7 separate regions of the Homo sapiens genome follow, and regions 1, 2, 4, 5, 6 and 7 are each linked to region 3. The links are contacts of gene promoters, found by promoter capture Hi-C in blood cells and fetal thymus (Javierre and others, 2016). All regions are on one chromosome and are shown on one strand. The core of a region is centred on a gene start or on the middle of the fragment in contact, and the rest is flanking DNA. Distances in the headings are between cores, read along the strand shown.

Evidence for each region. Contacts are between HindIII fragments. The CHiCAGO score rates a contact against its expected background, and 5 or more counts as called.
Region 1: a fragment that was not itself captured here is called in contact with the fragment with the promoter of CLEC16A in region 3 in 1 of 17 cell types (neutrophils); the score reaches 5.3 in neutrophils.
Region 2: a fragment that was not itself captured here is called in contact with the fragment with the promoter of CLEC16A in region 3 in 4 of 17 cell types (naive CD8 T cells, activated CD4 T cells, naive CD4 T cells and 1 more); the score reaches 6.9 in naive CD8 T cells.
Region 4: a fragment that was not itself captured here is called in contact with the fragment with the promoter of CLEC16A in region 3 in 9 of 17 cell types (naive CD4 T cells, naive CD8 T cells, activated CD4 T cells and 6 more); the score reaches 11.0 in naive CD4 T cells.
Region 5: a fragment that was not itself captured here is called in contact with the fragment with the promoter of CLEC16A in region 3 in 2 of 17 cell types (naive CD4 T cells and total CD4 T cells); the score reaches 6.0 in naive CD4 T cells.
Region 6: a contact is called between a fragment that was not itself captured here and the fragment with the promoter of CLEC16A in region 3, in 3 of 17 cell types (naive CD4 T cells, naive CD8 T cells and neutrophils). The highest score is 6.9, in naive CD4 T cells.
Region 7: a fragment that was not itself captured here is called in contact with the fragment with the promoter of CLEC16A in region 3 in 4 of 17 cell types (total CD8 T cells, fetal thymus, naive CD8 T cells and 1 more); the score reaches 8.1 in total CD8 T cells.

What each region holds. Positions count from the first base shown.
Region 1 is chr16:11,918,158-11,921,260 of GRCh38, forward strand. No RefSeq gene overlaps it. Among named protein-coding and RNA genes, the nearest start is that of GSPT1, 3.8 kb to the left of the region's middle. The HindIII fragment of the contact is 2,213 bases long and covers 702-2,914 here.
Region 2 is chr16:11,821,195-11,824,461 of GRCh38, forward strand. It overlaps BCAR4 (breast cancer anti-estrogen resistance 4), which reads right to left. Exons shown (of 3, transcript NR_131222.1): 2 at 444-561. Among named protein-coding and RNA genes, the nearest start is that of BCAR4, 6.0 kb to the right of the region's middle. RefSeq lists enhancers at 453-953, 954-1,454. The HindIII fragment of the contact is 2,676 bases long and covers 666-3,267 here.
Region 3 is chr16:10,943,075-10,946,339 of GRCh38, forward strand. CLEC16A (C-type lectin domain containing 16A) reads left to right here and starts at 1,490. Exons shown (of 24, transcript NM_015226.3): 1 at 1,490-1,723. The coding sequence starts at 1,644. RefSeq lists enhancers at 1,103-1,282, 1,503-1,562. The HindIII fragment of the contact is 6,288 bases long and covers 1,264-3,265 here.
Region 4 is chr16:11,845,880-11,849,087 of GRCh38, forward strand. It overlaps RSL1D1 (ribosomal L1 domain containing 1), which reads right to left. Exons shown (of 9, transcript NM_015659.3): 3 at 1,789-1,927; 4 at 816-964; 5 at 622-723. Among named protein-coding and RNA genes, the nearest start is that of RSL1D1, 4.1 kb to the right of the region's middle. The HindIII fragment of the contact is 1,049 bases long and covers 774-1,822 here.
Region 5 is chr16:11,871,795-11,875,117 of GRCh38, forward strand. GSPT1 (G1 to S phase transition 1) reads right to left here. Exons shown (of 15, transcript NM_002094.4): 15 at 1-1,377. The coding sequence ends at 1,325. Among named protein-coding and RNA genes, the nearest start is that of RSL1D1, 22 kb to the left of the region's middle. The HindIII fragment of the contact is 9,746 bases long and covers 1-3,323 here.
Region 6 is chr16:11,897,867-11,901,133 of GRCh38, forward strand. It overlaps GSPT1 (G1 to S phase transition 1), which reads right to left. Exons shown (of 15, transcript NM_002094.4): 2 at 128-169; 3 at 1-15. Among named protein-coding and RNA genes, the nearest start is that of GSPT1, 16 kb to the right of the region's middle. The HindIII fragment of the contact is 4,482 bases long and covers 1-3,267 here.
Region 7 is chr16:11,740,157-11,743,209 of GRCh38, forward strand. TXNDC11 (thioredoxin domain containing 11) reads right to left here and starts at 2,701. Exons shown (of 12, transcript NM_015914.7): 1 at 2,321-2,701. The coding sequence starts at 2,574. TXNDC11-AS1 (TXNDC11 antisense RNA 1) reads left to right here and starts at 2,858. Exons shown (of 1, transcript NR_186412.1): 1 at 2,858-3,053. RefSeq lists silencers at 2,149-2,818, 2,681-3,053. The HindIII fragment of the contact is 481 bases long and covers 1,482-1,962 here.

The DNA of each region.
Region 1 (3,103 bases), core at 558-3,057, 980 kb after region 3:
GAGCGACAAAGCGAGACTCTGTCTCAAAAAACAAACAAAAAAAGCGATCCACCTGCCTCAGCTTCCCAAAGTGCTGGGCTTATCGGTGTGAGCCACCACACCCGGCAGAGTTTGCCTCTGCTTAATAGGAAGTTTTGGTTATAGCCTATTATTATACCTGAAGACCTCACTGAATCATACTTAACAATGTCCATTTTAAAGTTGGTATTAAGTGACTGTCAGATTTACAGAGAACTTAACAACTGTTATGAAAATTAGAACTTCATTTATGCGAGACCTGTATTGCTATTGAATAAAAGATTTTCATCTTATATTCACAAGAAAAAATACAATGTGTTCTAAATGAAATGCCTTCTCTTTCCAGATTTTCACTCCCCACCCACCCACCCCTAAGAAAATGTCAACACAATCAGCTGACTCAAATAATGAACTACACATCCTTCTCTAAGCATTTTGTCTTTGAATACTACTCTCCTCCATGTAGCACTCCTACAGCACTGAATGATCACTTTCTCATAGGTTAGTTCTTCACATCTAATTGAATTAGCAGAGTTTCCTTCTGCCTGGTACTTTTTCTAGGGACAAAGGCAGAAACTGCTCAGACTGCTGCTTAGAAAAGCAGTTGATGTCATTAATTTCCTTGTCTCTGAATAGGATAATTATGGATATTCAGGAAAAAATCCACTCCATTGGTTTTCCAAAGCTTTGACCTGCCAAACAGAGCTCCAGCGGAAAAGGGAAAAGTCTTTCTTGTTAGTTGTGCTAAGTTGTGTGTAAGTTGTGCGACTTGAGGGCAGGGTCTTACCTTAATCTTCTTTACATTTCCACTGCCTAGTGTAATGCCCGGTGTATAAAAGGTGCTTAATCAATTTAGCTGGGATGATACTGTCCTTTGATACTCATTTAAGACTGCTGACACATAGGGCTAATAATTTTATTTATTTATTTATTTTTTAAATAACTTGAGACTCTTGAGACAGAGTCTCGCTCTGTCGCCCAGGCTAGAGTGCAGTGGTATGATCTCAGCTCACTGCAACTTCCACCTCCCAGGTTCAAGCGATTCTCCCACCTCAGCCTCCTGAGTAGCTGGGATTACAGGTGTGCACCACCACGCCCAGCTAATTTTTGTATTTTTAACAGAGACGGGGTTTCACCATGTTGGCCAGGATGGTCTCAATTTCTTGACCTTGTGATCTGCCCTCCTTGGCCTCCCAAACTGTTGGGATTACAGGCGTGAGCCACCACGCCTGGCCTGTATTTTTTTTTAGTAGAGACAGGGTTTCACCTTGTTGGCCAGGCTGGTTTCAAACTCCTGATCTCAAGTGATCTGCCTGCCTTGGGCTCCTAAAGTGCTAGGATTACAGATGTGAGCCACCGCACTTAGCTATTTTAATTTAATTTAATTTTATTTTTTGAGATGGAGTCTTGCTCTGTTGCCCAGGCTGGAGTGCAGTGGAGCAATCTTCACGCACTGCAACCTCTACCTCCCAAGTTCAAGCAATTCTCCTGCCTCAGCCTCCTGAGTAGCTGGGATTATAGGTGCCCGCCACCCCCCCTCCCCAACCCCCTGGTAATTTTTCTATTTTTAGTAGAGACAGGGTTTCACCATATTGCCCAGGCTGATCTGGAACTACTGACCTCAAGTGATCCTCCTGCCTCAGCCTCCCAACGTGCTAGGATTACAGGCATGAGCCACCACACCCCACCCCAGGACTAATAATTTAGAAAACTTAGGAAAAATCAGAGTTTTTCCTACTCTCACACACAAGTCACCGCTCAACACAGAGTACAGTCCTCTCTGGGTAGAGGAAGGGGATTAGTTCCAGGAGCCCTTCAGATACAAAAATCCAACCATACTAAAATCCCACAATCTATACTGTGTGTATGAAAGGTCAGCCCTCCCTACACTTGAGTTCCTGCATCCTGAGAATCCCGTCTTTTTGATCCTCATTTGATTGAAAAAAAAAATCCATGTGTAAGTGGGACCCTCGCAGTTCAGGCTCACATTGTTTAAGGGCCAGTTGTACTCCACCAGTAAGTGAGGGAGTTTCTACCCACCACCAACCAATTCTTCAACAGACACCAACAGGATAAGCAATCATTTCACTCAATTCTGACATTAACCAGAGTTAGGACAGATCCCACAAGTTAAGGGATCAGTCCCACAAGACTGCCCCCACTTCCAATGCCAATAACAGGTTCCACATTGTGACCTGTGCTTCTGACCAACTGGCTATGAATTGGGGGTTCCCATGACCCCCTCCATGGGTTCAGGGAATTTGCCAGAGTGGCTCACAGAACTCAAGGAAACAGGGCAAACACGGTGGCTCATGCCTGTAATCCCAGCACTTTGGGAGGCCGAGGCAGGCGAATCACCTGAGGTCAGGAGTTTGAGACCAGCCTGGCCAACATGGTGAAACCCTGTCTCTACCAAAAAAATACAAAAATTAGCCGGTTGTGGTGGTGGGTGCCTGTATTCCCAGCTACTCAGGAAGCTGAAGGCAGGAGAATCGCTCGAACATGGGAGGCAGAGGTTGTAGTGAGCCAAGTGCTCCACCACACTCTAGCCTGGGCAACAGAGCAAGACTCCGTCTCAAAAAAAAGAACTCAAGGAAACACTTTACTTACAGTTACCCATAAAGGACATTACAAAGGATACAGAGGAACAGCCACGTGGAAGAGATGCACAGGGCTGGGAAGGGGCATACAGTTCCTATTCTGTCTCCAGGTGTGCCATCCTCAAGGGTCCTCCACGTGTTCAGCAACCCAGAAGCTCTCTGAACCCTGTCCTTCTGGGTTTCTATGGAGGCTTCCCTACATAGCCATGACTGATTGTATCATTGCCCGTTGCTGATTAACTCAACCTTCAGCCCCTCTGCCCACCGAGAGGTTGGATGTGGGGCTAAAAGTTCCAAGCTTCTAATCATGACTTGGCCTTTCTGGTGACCAGTCGTCTTCTAGGAGCCCATCAAGAGTTGCATCATTAGGCAGGGTGCGGTGGCTGATGCCCAGCACTTTGGGAGGCCGAGGCAGGCAGATCACCTGAGGTCAGGAGTTCGAGAACAGCCTGGTCAACATGGCAAAACCCTGTCTCTACTAAAAA
Region 2 (3,267 bases), core at 754-3,253, 880 kb after region 3:
ATTTTTGGAGGCCAAGATGGGAGGACTGCTTCAGCTTGGAAGTTCAAGACCAGCTTGGGCAACATAGTGAGAACCTGCCTCTACTAAAAATTTTAAGAAAATAGCCGGGCACAGTGGCTCACGTCTGTAATCCCAGCACTTTGGGAGGCCGAGGAGGGCAGATCACAAGGTCAGGAGATCGAGACCATCCTGGCTAACGTGGTGAAACTCCATCTCTACTAAAAATACATAAAAATTAGCCAAGCATGGTAGCGGGCGCCTTTAGTCCCAGCTACTTGGGAGGCTGAGGCAGGAGAATGGCGTGAACCTGGGAGACGGAGCTTGCAGTGAGCCGAGATTGCACCACTGCACTCCAGCCTGGGCGACAGAGCGATATTCCGTCTCAAAAAAAATAATAATAAAAAATAAAAATAAAAAATTTATCCAGTTCTGGTAGTACATGCCTGTAGTCCCAGATACTTGGGAAGCTGAAGCAGGAGAATCACTTGAACCCAGGAGATGGAGGCCGCAGTGAGCTATGATTACGCCATTGTATTCCAGCCAGAGTGACAGGACAAGACCCTGTTTCAAATTTTTTAAAAAAGGAAATAAAAAGATACATCTTTACAGTGTGAAAAGAAAACAAAATCTCAGCCCCAAACTCACTATGCCTAGGGGAAAAGTTAAGCTTGGAAATCGAGTCACACACAACAAAATCTGCCTTTCGTTTTGTTCCTAAACAGATAGCTATAAGATAGAAGGCCACACGCCTCACAACGGGGACTTTCTTACCCTGACAATGTAAATTAATAGCTTATCTTCATAGGTAGGAGACAAGAAGAGACTATAAATTGCTGACCCACCCACGCTGAGACCCATGCGTATTTGATTTTTTTTTTTTTTTTTTTTGAGACGGAGTTTCGCTCTTTTTGCCCAGGCCGGAGTGCAATGGTGCAATCTCGGCTCACCGCGACCTCTGCCTCCCGGGTTCAAGCATTTCTCCTGGCTCAGCCTCCCAAGTAGCTGGGATTACAGGCGCCTGCCACCCCGTCTGGCGAATTTTTTGTATTTTTAGTAGAGACAGGTTTCACCACGTTGGCCTGGATTGTCTCGATCTCCTGACCTCGTGATCCACCCGCCTCGGCCTCCCAAAGTGCTGGGATTACAGGCGTGAGCCACTGCACCCGGCCGCATATTTGATTTCTATGTTTATCTACAGGTCAAGTACAGATTGCCCAAGTTCAAGAGAAAGACTTGATTGTTCTTCCTCTCTTTCCTTTTCACATGCAACACGTGGATTGAGTGAGTGCTGAAAGCCTCATTACAATGCTACCCTATCCTTCTCCATTTTTTCTTTTCACCTCTCCCCTCCTGCCCACTTTTTCCCTTTAAATATTGAAGCCCTTTAAATCCTCTTTGGAAAAAGTGCTGACTCCAGATCCTCTTGTGGCTTCTGTCTATTTCCTGGGCATGTCCTCAATGTTAGCTAAAATAAACCTCTACAGTGATTGAGACCTTCTGAGACTTCTGGTTTACAAGTGAAATTTCATGAAGCTATCTCAAGACATCCAAAAAGACTGCTTCTGAAAATGAATCCTCACGCTTGGGAGGCCGAGGCAGGTGGATCGCTTGAGCCCAGGAGTTCAAGACTAGCCTGGGGAACGTGGCAAAACCCTGTCTCTACAAAAAATAAATAAATAAATTAAATAAAATACAAAAAATTAGCCACGCATGGTGGCACGTGCCTGTAGTACCAGATACCCTGGGAGCTGAGGCTTCAGTAAGCCTTGATTGTGCCACTGCACTCCAGCCTGGGAGATAGAAAGGCCCCATCTCAATTCTAAAAAAAGAAGGCTGGGCACAGTGGCTCATGCCTGTAATCCCAGCACTTTGGGAGGCCAAGGCAAGTGGATTCCCTGAGGTCAGGGGTTCCAGACCAGTCTGGCCAACGTGATGAAACCCTGTCTCTACAAAAAATACTAAAATTAGCTGGGTGTGGTAGCAGAAGCCTGTAATCCCAGCTACTCAGGAGGCTGAGGCAGGAGAATCACTTCAACCCGGGAGGCAGAGATTGCAGTGAGCCAAGATCGCACCATTGCACTCCAGCCTGGGTGACAAGAATGAGACTTCGTCTCAAAAAAAAAATAAAAATAATAAAAAGAAGAAAATGGCTGGGTGCAGTGGCTCATGCCTGTAATCCCAGCACTTTGGGAGGCCAAGACAGGTGGATCACCTGAGGTCGGGAGTTCAAGACCAGCCTGACCAACATTGAGAAACCCCATTTCTACTAAAAATACAAAATTAGCTGGGCGTGGCGGCACATGCCTGTAATCCCAGCTACTTGGGAGGCTGAGGCAGGAGAATCGCTTGAACCCGGGAGGCAGAGGTTGTGGTGAGCCAAGATTGCACCATTGTACTCCAGCTTGGGCAACAAGAGCAAAACTCTGTCTCAAAAACAGAAGAAGAAGAAGAAACTGAAGTACAAGGCCAAAGGTACTTGAAGTAGGCTTAACTTCTTCCTGAAGCACCATTACTATTTGATGGTAAATCTATGTTTTTATACTTTAGGTACAAGTGATGAAATTCAAGGCCAGGCATAGTGACTCATGCTTGCAACCCCAGCACTTTGGGAGGCCGAGGCAGGAGGATCACTTGAGGTCAGGAGTTTGAGACCAGCTTGGCCAACATGGTGAAATCCATTCTCTACTAAAAATACAAAAATTAGGCCAGGTGCATTGGCTCACGCCTGTCATCTCAGCCCTTTGGGAGGCTGAGGCGGGCAGATTACTTGAGGTCAGGAGTTTGAGACCAGCCTGGCCAACATAGTGAAACCCCGTCGCTACTAAAAATATAAAAATTAGCTGGGTGTGGTGGCGCACACCTGTAATCCCAGCTACTCAGGAGGCGGAGGCAGCAAAATCACTTGAACCCAGGAAGCGGAGGTTGCAGTGAGCCAAGATCACGCCATTGCACTCCAGCCTGGGTGACAGAGTGAGACTCCATCTCAAAAAAACAAACAACAACAACAACAAAAACAAAAATTAGCCAGGCATGATGGCCCACATCTGTAGTTGCAGCTACTCAGAAGGCTTGAGGCAGGACAATCTCTTGAACCCCAGAGGCAGAGGTTGCAGTGAGCTGAGATCACACCACTGCACTCCAGCCTGGGCAACATGGCAAGACTCTATCTCAAAAAAAAAAAAATCCCGAAGAAGCAAACAAAAACAAGTGACAAGTGATGAAATCCAAGGTCAAAGATTAAGAACATTGACTTGAAGGAGAGGGGAC
Region 3 (3,265 bases), core at 240-2,739:
ACATGGCTAAACATTCAAACAACCGTGAAGTACACAGAAAAGTGAGTCTCTCCCACCCACTGGTTCCCCTGCTCTTGGGTAACCGTTGCATGTCTTTCAGGAAAACATGATCTCGCCCAAAGAGCCTTCCAAAGCAGTTCAAGAAACCTTTAAATCTCAGGCCACACTGAGCTGAGTATTTTACATGCATCGCTTAATCGGAGGTATACAAGGCAGTGTAGTATGTATGTGCGTACTTTTTACAGATGAAAAATACGAGCCCAGGGATCCTACATTTCTGAGCCTGGGTGTGTTTCTTTGGAGGCCAGATCCTGTTCTTTTTTGCTCCATGACTTTGTCTTGCCCCACTCTATATGAATTACAGGACAAACCATTAACTCTCCACTCTTATCCATTTCTCCAACTGCTGAAGGTGAAACAAACCTTTACTCATTCATGCACTCTACCAATATTTGTTAAACACCTGCTATGTGCCAAACCTTGTGCTAGGCACTGGGGAGAACATTGGCCTCTGGCCCAGTTCTTTCTTGAGCAGAGTTAATGGGACACAGTGGACCTTTAATAAGGTTGATATGTAGAAGTGACTGAATGAATGAATGGATGGTAAACTTGAGAAGTCTTGCCCACACTGAACTTACCACTTCTAATCCAGGGTAGAAGTTAGATATATTCTGGCTCATGCAGAAAGTTGGGTGTTTCCTTTTTCATTTTAACGTGGTACTTTGGGAAATAGCATGGATTCTGGCTGAAGACCAGAGGAATCCTCTGGAAGTACAAAATGTTCAGTTTGGTGCATTGTTGCATCCAGCCTTTTCCAACACACACACACACACACACACACACACACACACACACACACACACACACACACACTTAATTGAAGTGGAAAAAGAAAAAGGCTGTCAGGACAAATAAGGTTGTTATCTAGTGCCGTTTTGGTTTATAAAGGGAATGAAAAATAAGGGTGCGTGCGTGGTTATGAACCCTGGTTTTGCCACTTGTTAACTGCATGATCTTGGGTAAGTCAACCTCTCAGTGACTCCGTTTCCCTGATGATAAAATAGGTTCGATAATAGTACCCAATTCATAGGATGGTTGTGAAAATTAAATACCTTAATATGTAAAGCCCTTAGGATAGTGGCTTTGCATAGTATACACCATCCAATACTATTCTTATTCTTATTATAAATCTAGTAATTGTTACTACAGTGGTGACTTTCCTTGACCCATCTACGCCGATTCCCTCTCCGGGACTGCGCCCAAAGCTTCCAATTCCCGCCCACCCGGAGGATTCTGCGGTCGCTCCTCCTCTCGCCCCGCCTTTTGTGGATGGCCGTAGGCCCGCGGTTGCACGATGCATGCCGGGCCTTGTAGTCCGTTCGCGGAGTCCTGCCGCCGAAGGCCACGCGGGTGAACTGCATTTCCCAGCGCCCCACGCGGCGGCGGCCGTAAAGCGCGGCGGTCGAACGGCCGGTTCCGGCTGAATGTCAGTGCTGGGCTGTGGGCCGGGGAGGAAGGCGGCTCGCGGTTCCTCCACCGCCTCCGCCGCCGCATCCTCCGCTTGTGCTACCGCCGCGGGCGCTGGGCCGCTCTGCTGGTCCGGCATGAGACCGTGAGACGAGAGACGGGTCGGGGCCGCCGACATGTTTGGCCGCTCGCGGAGCTGGGTGGGCGGGGGCCATGGCAAGACTTCCCGCAACATCCACTCCTTGGACCACCTCAAGTGAGTGTGGGGGGCGTAGCGGGAGGCCTCGGGGCTGGACAGGGGGACGGGGCGCCGAGCTCCGGGTCGGGGCTCTAGGAGGCGTGAGAGCGGCGGCGAAGGGCGCCCGGGGAAGCCCGTGTGGTGGTTAAGAGCGAGGGCTCGGGAGTCAGGGCGCCTGGGTTCGAACCCTGACCCCGTCGCTCTTGGCTGTGTGACCTTGGACAAGTCGCTTAATTTCTCAGAGTCTCCGTATCCCCACCTGTAAAGCGAGAGGATGCGATTTCAGTTTATGGACACAGACTTTGTTCTTGACGGTGTCCACCAAGTTTCCTGGCGGGGTACTTCTTAAACTGAACAGCTTAGAGGGTCAAAGGCCTGGGTCCTGGAGTCGGGCAGATCTGGGTCCGAATCTATCTGTGTGAATGTAGGCCTCAGGTTCCCCACTTGTAAAAAGAGTAGAGTGACAGCACCTGCTTCCTGCTATTGTGTTGAGAGTTGGTTGGATAAGAGAATGAACGTTAAGCTCAGAACACGTACAATTGCTCATTAAACGGCATTAATTATTATAAAAGAACAGATTATTTTCCGAGGGGAGTCTAAGCTGGGGGCATGCACGCTGAGACCCAGGATTTTGGGGCGATTGGGGAGGATGATGAAAAATAGAGACCTCTGAGGAGGGAATGACTCTACAGCTCTGGGGGAGGACAGGTGGCAGATAGGGTCTTGGGACCAGGAGTGCAGAAATTAAGAGGCTGGCTTTGCAGCCACACCTGCGTTCAAATCCTGAAACCACCATTTACTGGCTGTGTGACCTTGGGCAAATTACTTCACCTCTCTGAGCCTCCAGATTCCCATTTGCAAATGGGGATCGTGAACATTGTAATGGAAATGGAAGGTGACTGACCCAGTAGGTACATAGTAGGTGGCCAGTAGTGGTAGCTGTGTTTATTATCAGCTCAGCGAGGCCTTCCCAGACCACCCTACCTAACGTGCTCCCCCCATCCCAGTTCCTATCCATCACATCTTTCTCTTGCTTTCATTGAGTGCTTCTCCACTCTCTGCGATTATTCTTTATTTTTTATTTATACTTATTTTCTGTCTTCTGTTAAACTGGCACTTCACGAGGGCACAGACTGCTTGGTTTGTTCACAGTTGTATTCCCAGCATCTAGGACTGCTCTCTGCTTACTTAAAGAGTGGAAAAATGAATGATTGAATTGGGGAGAGATGAAGAGCATGCAGGCCAGGACCCAGGATTTGGGGGCAGGTGTGGAGGATGATGAAAAATAGAGATCTGTATGAAGGGAAAGGCTTTAGGGAGGGAAATGGCGGGGATGCTGAAGAGGGGAGTAGACAAATCTTCAGTGTCAAGAAATAGGCAGGTTTCCAGAAGGAGATCCTGAGACTACTAATGGGAAAGGAGGAAGATAGGGTTAGGGATATGGTGGGAAGTAGTGGAAGGGAGACGGGGCTGTGGAAAGGATTGGTGGGAGGGAATTAGATAGGGACTTCTCATGTGTCCCCGGGAGTGGGGTAGGGGTAGTGGCAGGGCCACAGTTCT
Region 4 (3,208 bases), core at 48-2,547, 900 kb after region 3:
CCTGACTAATGTTCTTGATTTTTCTGTAATTGGCTGGGGGAGAGGGTCTCATTATGTTGCCCAAGCTGGTCTTGCACTCCTGGGCTCAAGCGATCCTCCTGCCTAGGCCTCCCAAAGTGCTGGGATTACAGGCATAAGCCACTGCACCTGACCCGAGAATTGATCACTTCTGAGGAATAGATTTTAGTTTTAAAAAAGGATCTGGAGCCATTAACAAAATCTTTTTAAAAAGGCCAGGTGCAGTGGCTCACGCCTGTAATCCCAGCACTTTGGGAGGCCAAGGCGGGCGGATCATGAGGTCAGGAGATCGAGATCATCCTGGCTAACTCGGTGAAACCCTGTCTCTACTAAAAATACAAAAAGAAATTAGCCGGGCGTGGTGGCAGGCGCCTGTAGTCCCAGCTACTCGGGAGGCTGAGGCAGGAGAATGGCGTGAACCCAGGAGGCGGAGCTTGCAGTGAGTCGAGATGGTGCCACTGCACTCCAGCCTGGCAGACAGAGTAAGACTCCATCTCAAAAAAAAAAAACAAAAACAAAAAACAAAACAAAACGAATAAGTATATATAAAATCATTGTCAAATACAAGATTAAAAGAGGCACACATGAATGCCTTTTACCTACCTGCAAGAACCACTTTTAGAAATGTTTAAGACTGTTCCACCTATACAGTCATTGATCTCTCTTGATAAATTCTTGGACAGAAGGTTTACAGATACTGGAACTCTACAAAATAAACACACAGGCATTCAGAACACAATGCATACACACCTAGAAGCTTCATGCTGCTAAAGTCCAGTCATTACTAAGAAACTTACTTCTTTCTTTGATAGAAATGTCTCCCAATGAGTGAGGGTAAGAGCCGCCTAATTCTGGCATCAGTAAGGAAGAAATCAAAACTGCTCAGAAGGCGGAGCTTGGCTTCATAGGATTTATATTCCTTCTTTAGAGTTTGGAGGGAGATAATCTAGGAAGTATAGAGAAGAATAAAAACAAGAAGTTAGGAATCTAAACAAGGAGAAGAAATACTTAGGCAACAATTTGGATTTGGATTTAAAAATGTCCTAGAGCCATGCCTCTATACTTTAATGAACACTTGAGGGCCTAAAATGTGCCAGGCACTACGCTACATGCTGGGAACACTGAGACAAATGAGAAAAGACCCCAGCTAAAGCAACTTAGATCTAGGTGGGCAACATATATATATTATTATACATATGTTGCTGTATGTGCTTACGCCTGTAATACTAGCCCTTTGGGAGGCCGAGGTGGGTGGATCACCTGAGCTCAGGAATTCAAGACCAGCCTGGCCAACATGGTGAAACCTCGTCTCTATAAAAATATAAAAATTAGCCGGGCATGATGGCAGGTGCCTGTAATCCCAGCTATTCGGTAGGCTGAGGTGGGAGAATAGCTTGAACCTGGGAGGTGGAGGTTGCAGTGAGCCGAGGTCCTGCCATTGAATTCCAGCCTGGGCGACAGAGCGAGACTCCAAACAAACAAAAAAACTTAGATACCTTAGATCCAGAGGGTAATAAAGACAAGTACACCAACTACAAAACAGCAAATCAGAGAAAAACAAGATGCTGTGGAAGTACAGAGGAATGACACGAGCCACCTCTTTTATAATTTGCAAGATATAAAAGCTACTGATGTACACGCCACCACAAATTAAATTAAAAAGAGAAAAGTAGAAGAAAAATACTAGGAAATATAGCAATGTATTTGTGATACCATTTCGCCTGAATTAAATCCTCTAAATAACTTGAAAATATTAACCAGGCTTCCTACCTGAGAAACGGTTTTAATTCCATGCTTGTTTAAAAGCTTTCTATAAAACTGTTCTGTCTTTTCAGGAGTTGAATTGGGTTCATCCTTCGTAAATAAACAGATATCTTCTGAATCTGATCGAATACTATGAGGCAAGGTCCTACAAAATACGTGAAAAGAAACCGAGGAAAGCATTATTACACACATTATGCATGTTTGTATCACACAGAATACGCGATAAACTTAGTGTTATTTAAATAACTTTTAGTCATGCTAGTTAAGCAAATAATGCACCAAGAACAACACTTAAAAATACATTTCATGGCCGGTAGTAGTGGCTCAAGCCTGTAATCCCACACTTTAGGGAGGCCAAGGCAGATGGATCACCTGAGGTCAGGAGTTCAAGACCAGCCTGGCCAACATGGTGAAACCCTGTTTCTACTAAAATTATAAAAAATTAGCCAGGCACGGTGGTAGGTGCCTGTAATCCCAGCTACTTGAGAGTCTGAGGCAGGATAATCGCTTCAACCCGGAAGGTGGAGGTTGCAGTGAGCCAAGATCGCACCACTGGACTCCAGCCTGGGTAACAAGAGGCAAACTCCGTCTCAAAACACAAAAACAAAAAACAAAACTCACTTTCAATGGCAAGTAAATCACAAAAACACACAGGCCCAAATATCAATTAACACTTGGGATACAACAAGAATTAAAATATACTTAAAGACTTCCAAATGCTTGCATATATAATTATTATACATATGTTGCTGTATGTGCACACGTACTGTAATGCGCTATAAAAACCTAGCTTAATCAGGACAAGCCTGGTTCAGAATTTTACCTTCTTTAAAACTCTTAGCTCCATAAACATAATAACTCTTTCTTCTTTTCCTTTTTTTGAGACAGGGTTTTGCTCAGTACCCAAGGCTGCAGTGCAGTGGTGTGATCATAGCTCACGATAGCCTCCAGCATAGCTGAGACTCCAGGCACGTACCAGTTGGGTGTAGGCCCAGCTAATTTTTGTATTTTTCGTAGAGACAGGGTTTCGCCACATAGCCTGGGCTGGTCTTGAATTTGTGGGCTCAAGCAATCCACCTGCCTCAGCCTCCCAAACTGCTGAGATTACAGTGTGAGCCACCACACTCAGCCAACATAACTTTTTTTTTTTTTTTTGAGATGGGAGTCTCACTGTCGCCCAGGCTGGAGTCTCTGCAACCTCTGCCTCCTGGGTTCAAATGATTCTTGCACTTCAGCCTCCCAAACAGCTGGGATTACAGACGCCCACCATCATGTCTGGCTAATTTTTGTATTTTTAGGAGACATGGGATTTCGCCATGTTGGGTCAGGATGATCTCAAACTCCCAGGCCTCAAATGATCCACCCACCTCACCTCCCAAAGTGCTGAGATTACAGGGATGAGTCACCATGCCCAGCATAACATAAC
Region 5 (3,323 bases), core at 102-2,601, 930 kb after region 3:
TCCTCATTTATTCTCATGAAAAATTTCAAAGTCATGATAATTATAGCAGAGAGTCATTCAATCTAAAACCCACACAATGCTGCACTGTGGTTCATCAAAAACATGGTTAGCAAATTTCAGCTTTACACTTAAGAAAACTCAGTCAATTTCAAATAATTGAGATAAAACTTATACCCTGCTTGATTCTGCTTATCGCTGATAATTTTAGTCTGTTCAGATTCTGATGATTCTAAATATTTTCATTTAGTTGCTAGGTTGAGATTTAGCTTTAACCAGCAAGGATCATCCAACCTTTAAAGTTACTGATACAAAGAGTAAACTGAGTAACTTGTAGAAGTGGCACTTGCAACTGATACGGTTTTCATACTAGAGGCATGCAGCTCTATTTATAAATACTACCAGAGGAATTTTTGCCAGGTCTCAAACATGCTTTATTTGTTGTTAATTCCACTAATTTAACAAGTTAATGGAATTTTCTCTAGGGGTACAATTTCATTACGCTTTACTTATAAAAACTACAGTATGCTGTTCTTTTATTTTAAAACAACTTACTGTGTTCAAGAAATCATGTTACAATATAAATTGGCAAAAAAAAAAAAAATAAATAAATAACTAAAAGACCTAGTAAAGCAGTGTCACATTTGCATAAAGGGATTTAACTGCATGTATGCATTAACCATCAAAAGAAGGGGTCAAACTAATCCTTTCCTTTAATACAAACTTGAACGCTGTGAATGTCTCATTTATAGTGGGTAGGGAAAGAGTTTATAAAAGTCCAAGTAATAAAATGTATTCAATTACTTGGGAAAGTTAAAAAGCTAATGCAACAATGTTACATCCAGATAAAAAACATTATTCAAAAGCAATTCAAATACCGAAAAGGATTTCAAATTGAATATTTTATTAACATGGTAGTTGCCTTTGTAACATGTGCACACACACTCGCACACTCAGAATGATCTGCCTGGGGGAAAAATACTAAATATGCCTAAGGGGAAAATGAAAAATAAAAAAATTCCTGTAGGTTTTCATTATTGTAGGCAATTATGTCCACATCACTTACAAAGCTATTGCCAAATCTGTCCAAGGAAGCAGAGTTTGAAGTGAGGGCTAGGGACAGGAATCTTGGGAAAAATTCAACAGTGGCATAGCAGAGCTCTCAATATGAGAAAGCTGACATAATGTGGACTTTTGCTGTGAATTTCCTCTTTGCAAAATATGGGGAGAGGTTTATCAATGGGCAGAAAATAAGAGAAGGCGGTGTGAAGTAGGCTTCTGCAGTCAATTTTCCTCACAGTATTGTGCAGGGTCATCAAGAAAATGCTTAGTCTTTCTCTGGAACCAGTTTCAGAACTTTTCCAATTGCAATGGTCTTACCTAGAAATGAAATTTTAAAAAAATCTTTCAGTAGTTAACAGCAAGTCTATATAAGATATTAAAACTTATTATTTTAAATCACAAAAATATTTTTTACAATGTAAGTTACTAATTAACTAGCTTTACTGCCAAACCCATGATACTTCTATTTAGGTAGTCTTAATAAGAGGGTCTTATTTGGGGGGGCTGGTAAAGAGATGGTTCCCTGTATCAAAAACCTATCTCCCCCCGTACCCCCCAAACAATTCTCCTGCCTCATCCTCCCCAGTAGCTGAGATACAGATGCCTGCCACCACGCCCAGCTAATTTTTGTATTTTTAGTTGAGACGGGATTTCACCATGTTGGCCAGGCTGGTCTTGAACTCCTGACCTCAGGTGATCCACCCGCCTCAGCCTCCCAAAGTGCTGGGATTACAGGCATGAGCCACTGCATAAAGACAGAGTCTTACTCTGTCACCCAGGCTGGAGTGCAGTGGTGCGACTTCAGCTGACTGCAACCTCCTCCTTCTGGGTTCAAGTGATTCTCCTGCCTCAGCCTCCTGAGTAGCTGGGAGTATAGGTGCTTGCCACCATGCCCATTCTAATTTTTATATTTTTAGTAGAGGCAGGGTTTCACCATGTTGGCCAGGCTGGTCTTGAACTCTTGGCCTCAGGTGATCCGCCTGCCTCGGCCTCCCAAAGTGCTGGGATTACAGGGGTGAGCCACCACACTGGGCCAAAAAACCTCTTTGGATTAAAAATAAGAAAAGGGAATATCCGTATTTGTGGAATATCCACCCAGTGGAGTACTATTCAGTGATACAAAGGAATAAATAACATGTTACATGGTTGAACCTCAAAATCACACTAAGTAAAATAAACTAGACAAAGGACCACATAATTTATAATTCTATTTATGGAGTGTCTATAAAAGACAAATTGAAAAATGGTTGCCTGGGGTGGAGGTGGGAATAAGGGGTGATTATGAACAGGTGTAAGGTTTCTTTTTAGGTGTTCTAAATGTTCTAATATTAGTATATGGTGATGGTTGTACAATTCTGTAAACATACTAAAATTCATTGAATTACATACTTAAAACAGGTCAATTTCATATTATGGAAATTGTATCTCAATAAAGCTGCTAAAAAAAAAAATCCCAAAACCTATCCTTAAGTAACTGTGAAAAGGCACAGCAATCACCACTGACTACAGTGCAGTGAACACGTCCTTCTGGTAGTAATCCTGTGGACTGAAAGGATACAAAACCCATTGGGTCTTGTGGAAAACCTAAAAGCCAAGTTAGCTTTTTTTTTTTTTTTTTTTTTTTTTTTTTTAAAGCCAAGTTAGCTTTTAGGAAAAAATAATTCTAGGGTTAAGAATTCCTGCTACATTAATTGCTTTTCTTCTGTCTTCCTGATTTTATCAGGTTCTGAGTGGTAAACTAAAACTATCATTTTGTTATATTAATAAGATAAACCCAATAACCAGTTTTACTATCAACCAGAAGAGTTCTGGGCCTTTAAAGTAAAATAAACACTGTCTTTATACAATTTCATCCAATGTAAAGTTCAGGAACTGTATTCATCACCAGGGCTTAGCACAGTTCCTGACACTTTGTAGATACAAAGTAGTTTTTGCTAAATGGAATTGGAATGAACATGTGAAATGACTATTCTGTATTTCAATGGAACTATAAAGTTTTATGTAAAGTCTTCTATAGTCTTAAAATGGTTATCTAAGTTAGAAATATTAACAGCTGGGCCGGGCACGGTGGCTCACGCCTGTAATCCCAGCACTTTGGGAGGCCAAGGCGGGCGGATCACGAGGTCAGGAGATCAAGACCATCCTGGCTAACGTGGTGAAACCCCGTCTCTACAAAAATACAAAAAATTAGCCAGGCATGGTGGCAGCACCTATAGTCCCAGCTACTCGGGAGGCTGAGGCAGGAGAATGGCGTGAACCTGGGA
Region 6 (3,267 bases), core at 153-2,652, 950 kb after region 3:
CAGCTGAATTTGAACCTAGACAAGAGATTGAAATATAATATATATTTACCAAACAGTATCTAGCTTTACACACCATATAGACAACCTAATGTTTTCTCAAGTAGACTTTCAAAGAGTACATCATTACCTTCACACAATGACTGTTCCTCTTGAGAGGATTCCACAGGTGCTGTTTAACAGAAAGAAGTTCTATTAAAAATTGATACTTATCCATCCATTTCACTTATCTTTTAATATGCAGTAAAAACAGAAGTTCAATAACACGACACAAGCCTCAATCAATAACCCCAGATCAATGGCAGCTAACTCAGGCCTTCAAGTTAGAAGTCTCTGCTTAACCTACTTTTCAAAATTCTACTAATTACAGCCAATTTTGAAACATTTTCAGTAGTTTCAATGTATTCATAAAAACATGCTTATTCTTTTGATTTGCTTTATAAACCTTTTCTTCACAGATACTGTCAAAGTAATTTGCAGCTCAGCACAGATCAAATTAGAGATGTGCTCAACAAATACACATCTACTTCCCGTGATTCTCTCTAGGTAACCCAGCCCAAGAAAGCTGTGATTAGCCCTTTTTTTTTTTTTTTTTTTTTGAGACTGAGTTTCACTCTTGTTGCCCAGGCTGGAGTTGGAGTGCAATGGCACGATCTTGGCTTACCGCAACCTCCATCTCCCCGGTTCAAGCGATTCTCCTGCCTCAGCCTCCTGAGTACCTGGGATCACAGGTGCATGCCACCATGCCCGGCTAATTTTGTATTTTTAGTAGAGATGGGGTTTCGCCACGTTGGTCAGGCTGGTTTTGAACTACGACCTCAGGTGTTCTGCCCACCTCGGCCTCCCAAAGTGCTGGGATTACAGGCTTGAGCCACCGCATCCAGCCTGTGATTAGCCCTTTTTAATATTCCATACTCATGTTATCAAAATCCCTGAATAAATTAGATACCTATAAGATAAATGACATGTGTATAAAGTCCTGAAACATATATAAGCCATTAAAAATATCTGCAGAAAAGGTGATTCCAATGATGCCAGTTTTTTCCTATACTAGAACTCTAAAACCAAGCAACAATCCAGTTTCCAGTTGCCACACTGCAAATTTACTTATGACATTACTGGAAGAGATGTAGGAGAAATACATACTAATAACCAAATATCTAAGTCTGCTTTTTGGATTTTAGTTTGTCAGATACAGACAAACCTAAATTATACTCCAATATGAACGTGCCCCTGCTTTAAAGAATCTCCACGACAGAAAACGATACTAAAGAATTAAATCATATGAATCATGCACAGCAAGTATGAAAAAATAATGAATTTGTAACCTGTAAAATCATTGCCCGGAAAGGATCAATACCTGTAAGAGTCAAGAGAAAGTGTTTTGGGCCCAACCTTCAATAGCATCAAATGTTGAGTAAAGTAATTTCCTGTCCCTGATAGGTAAAGGACAACCAAATTGTTTTCTTTTTTTTTTTAAGTGACAGGCTCAGACTGTCACTTAGGAAGATCTTTTTCTTGCAGCTTAAACTACATGAACTAGAGTGGGCAAGACCCCACAGGCAGGAAGACCCACATCACCACTGCAAGAAAGCATGCCATGGAGACAACCAAGCAATACAACTAGGAGGGGATGGGGGCTACACCTGACAGGAGTTGGGAGAAAGGGAGAGTAAAAGGTCTAAGATGACCCCAAGCTGTGGGATGAGCAGGACATTAACAAACAGGGGGGAAACGCATTTGAACCTGGTTTGGAAGGAGGCAGAAACTGTACTTCAACACAATACAGATTAACTTTTTTTTGCTTTTCCATTTTCAAGAAAAGTTTAAGGATAAGGTAAGGAAAAATTACTCAGTTTTCAGAGGAAGCCAGGTAGTACTGAGAGTATCAAGTTCACAGGCCACCCTAAGAAGGAGGTGACTGCATGGGGTACTTCTCAGAGCCTGGAACTGAGCTGACTCCTAGGTTTAACTCCTGGCTTATTACAAGCTGTGCCTGCACTTATTCCACTGAAATTGTGGAAATGATATACCATCTACCTGAGAGGATTGTTGAGGAGTTTATGGGAGGAAATGGGAGAATAATTTGTTTAGTGTCAGTTAAAGAACTCCTGGCGTATTCAACAAATGTGTCTCCATCTGCTATGTAACTACTCCAACTCAATCCTATCAATATGTATTGAGTATCAGCCAGGCACGGTGGCTCACACCTGTAATCCCAACACTTTGGGAGGCGGAAGCGGGGGGATCATTTGAGTTCGGGAGTTCAAGACCAACCCGGCCAACATGGCAAAACCCTGTCTCTACTGAAAATACAAAACAATTAGCTGGGTGTGGCATACACCTGTAATCCCAGCTACTCGGGAGGCCAAGGCAGGAGAATCGCTTGAACCCGGGAGGTGGAGGTTGCAGTGAGCCAAGATCACGTCACTGCACTCCAGCTTGGACAAGAATGAAACTCCGTCTCAAAAAAAAAAAAATTAATAAAAATGAATACATATATATATGTATTGAGTATCTATTATGGGCCAGACAAGGATAAAAGTACTCACAAATCCATATTGTGTAGGGAGTGGGGGATGGAGGGGGTAGCAATTTGCTTTAACTAATTTTTATTGAGCCCTAAGTGCCGACTGCTAGCTCATTCCCACCAAAAGCCTTAGGAAACAGATCCTGTAATCACTACCATCTAACATACAGGCACATCAGAATCAACTGCAGGCATTTCCAAGTTATGCAAGTGCCATCTTCCCCTTCCTCAGATAGTCCCTGCTGAAAATCAGTGTACAAGTAAACTAAGCTCTGACGGACACACAGTTATGATGTACTGCGTATCTTAAGGCAGGAAAATGACGGGTGTGGTGGGCTTCCTCACCACTCTCAAGTGTATCACTAACTGTAACAGCTTTTCAAAACAAAACAGTACTTACACCTGACCACTTAGTTCCTGGCACCAACTATTAGATTTACAATACAGATGGCTCCTCAACTTACAATGGATTGTAAGTTGCAAATGGGTTGGGCATGGTGGCTCACACCTGTAGTCCTAAACCTCTGGGAGTCCAAGGTGGGAGGATGGCAAGAGTTTGAGACCAGCCTGGGCAACATGGCAAAACCCCACCTGTACCAAAAAAAGAAAAACAAAAAACAAAAAACAAAAAACTGTCGGGAATGGCGGCATGCGCCTGCAGTCCCAGCTGCTCCGGGGGCTGAGCCTGGGAGGGTCAAGGTTGCAATGAGACCTGACTACACCACTGCACTCCAGCCTGG
Region 7 (3,053 bases), core at 472-2,971, 800 kb after region 3:
AAAAAAATCCTATTCTCCCTTAAGCCTATCTCCTTATTAAAGCAAAGATCTTAAAACTGAAAGAGGAAAAGCGGGGGTAGAAATGTTAGCCAGTTGCACAGCAATAAACAGTATCATGACACCATTCAATCAAAGATGACCCTAAAAAAATTAATCCGAGTCTATTAAAAGACTGTCAAATTTGCCAGTGACACAGAAAGAAGATGAAGCAGCAGCCATTTACTGGTTCATTCTCCTTGCCTGAAGCAAGAAAGGATCTCATTCTGCCTACTCTAGTAACTGGATTTACTCTCTTCCTTCCTTTTCAATCTCAAAGGACTTCTGTATCAATTAAGCCATGCTGTCTCAGAACAAACATTAACCATTATTTCTAGACTTTAACAAACCGATGTAAATAAACTTCACCCCTGGAGGGGGAAACCTCTCTTCCTAATTTGAACCTAAATGTCACCTCGCAACACTCTACCTTGTAAAATACTTTGTATACTGTCCTTGTGGGAGACAAGAATAAAGTACAAGGTTAAGAATCTAGGAGGTCCTGACAATAAAGGATTCAAATTCCAGCTCAGCCCCTTATCACGTAGGTGTGATTTGGAGCAGGTTCTGAAACATCACGAAGGCTGGACTCCTTCATCTGTGCACTGGGAAAGATAACAGTATATTCAAACTTTAATGGGGATTGTAAGATTTAAATGACACCCATACTAGGCTCTCAATTATGTACTAAATGAATAAATGCTTCATGGAAACAGTGGTTCCCAAGCAGGCAATTTTGCTCCCAGGGGACATCTAACAATGTCTGAAGCCATTGTAGTTGTTACATCTTGTGGGGTGTGCTACTGGTATCTAGTGGGTAGAGGCCGGGGATGCTGCTAGACATCCTACAGTAGTCAGGGCAGCCCCCACAACACAGAATTATCTGACCCAAAATATCAACAGTGCCAAGACGGAGAAACCCTGCTGACAGTACCTGGCCTATGGAAAATGCTCACTGAGAGTTATTATAATTTATCTTTCCACTAAAATCCCCGATCTTTTGACACCTCTTTGACAACTGGCCACATATCGTGCTAAATAAACTCAAAAATGTTCCGAGGTGAAATCACAGATATCATAGTAGCAATACAGATCTTATAAACTGGAATCCCAAAAGACCCACTGTGGATTTGGGAGACCAGAAGTACACCTGAAATATACAGCAAATTTTGTATGTGTGTACATTCCTGAAAAGACACACATGAACTTTCATGTTCCTACCCCCTACACCCCAGCCTACTGTCAGGCCTTTTTATCAATTCCAGGGAAACACCAAGCTTGCCCAGCCTCAGAAACTCTGCATTTGCTGTTCGCTCTACCGTGGACACGCTCCCCCGGGATCTTCCCAGCGCTGGTCCCTTCTCCTTTTTGTATAAGCTTCAAATGTCACTTCCTTAGGAAGTCTTTCCCCACCGCCATCGTTTCTATGCCCTGCATAGCACTGAAGCTTTAAAAAATTATATTTACTTGTTCACTGTCCCATCCACTCAAGGGAGCAAAAAGTTCACCCGGACGAGCGTCCGGCACATAGTAGGTGCAGATAAATAATCGTTAGATCAGGCCGGGTGCGGGGCTCTCGCCTGTAATCCCAGCACTTTGGGAGGCCGAGACGGGTGGATCACGTGAGGTCAGGAGTTCGAGACCAGCCTGGCCAACGTGGTGAAACTCTGTCTCTACTAAAAATACAAAAATTAGCCAGGCGTGGTGGCGCGCGCCTGTAATCCGAGCTACTCAGGAGCTGAGGCAGAAGAACCCCTTGAACCCGGGAGGCGGAGGTTTCAGTGAGCCGAGATCGCGCCACTGCACTCCTGCCTGGGACACAATGCGTGACTCCGTCTCAAAATAAAAATAATCGTTAGATCAATGAGTGCGGGAATTCTAAAAGGGGTCTGGAACTCTCGCAAGGTTGTGGATCACTACACCTGAAGCTTAAGGGGAATGAAATCGGTGAGAAATGAGGGTCCTACAGCCCGGGCCGAAGTGACAGGTCCACCCCTAGTGACTCCAACAGGTGAGGAGCACCCCCGACCCGCCTCCCTCGGCACTAAAGCGGGACGATAGGGCGCAGGGCTCCACCCGGAAGCCTCGCCATAATGTCCGCGGGCGGGCCGGGGCGAGGAGAAGGTGGGAAGCCGTGGCCGCAGGTTCCGGGAGGGGTCAGCCGTCCTGGGCAAGGTCAGGCCCGACTTCCCCGGCTGAGGCCGCTGCGACCCGGCCCTGCAGGCTCCAGGCGGCAGAGCAAGGGGAGCGCCCTAGCGGGGCCCCAGGGTCCGGGCCGCCTCACCTGCAGGTGAACTTGAGGGCGAGGAGCAGCGCGCAGCCGAGCGCCACGGCCCCGCAGAGCAGCTCCGGCCGCTGGCGCGCCATGAGGAAGGCGCCACGCAGCCCGCGACGGAGCCGGCCCGCCGAGGACGCTGTGGCCAGGGTCGGGCTCGAGCTGAGGCAGTCTGAGCCCGCGGGGCCGCCGCCGCCCCCTCCCTCGTCCTCGGCGTCCTCGCTGCTGCTGCTGCCGCCGCCGCGGCCTCCGCATTCCGACATTACATGCTCCCAGTCGCCGGCTTTATACCGCCGCCGCCGCCTCGGGCCCGAAGGCCCGGCCCGGCCCGTTGCTCCCCAATCCCGCAGCTCGCCGCACCCGCTAACCCGGACGCTCCACGTCAGCCGCGCCGCCGCCGCGGGGTCCGCCCCACCTCACACCCCAGAGCACGCAGCTCCGCCCACCGCTCACGGAGTCCGGGCGGGCACCGACACCGCCCAAATCCCCGCCCCCAACGGGCCACGCCCTGCACCCTACGTAAATGCACGGAAGCCTTCCCCGCCCGCAGCCCAGTCTTGGCCCCACCGGTCACGACCCCGCTCACGGAGTCTGCGCAGGCGCCGTCGCGGGGCGTGGAGAAGCTGCTCCCTTGGGATAAGGCCCGCGGGGAATACTTGGAACCTTGACACCGCTGTAGTCTGCTCTCGCCGCGCTGGGTTTTAGGAGCCGTAACGACAATAATCGTGTCCACCATTCTCAC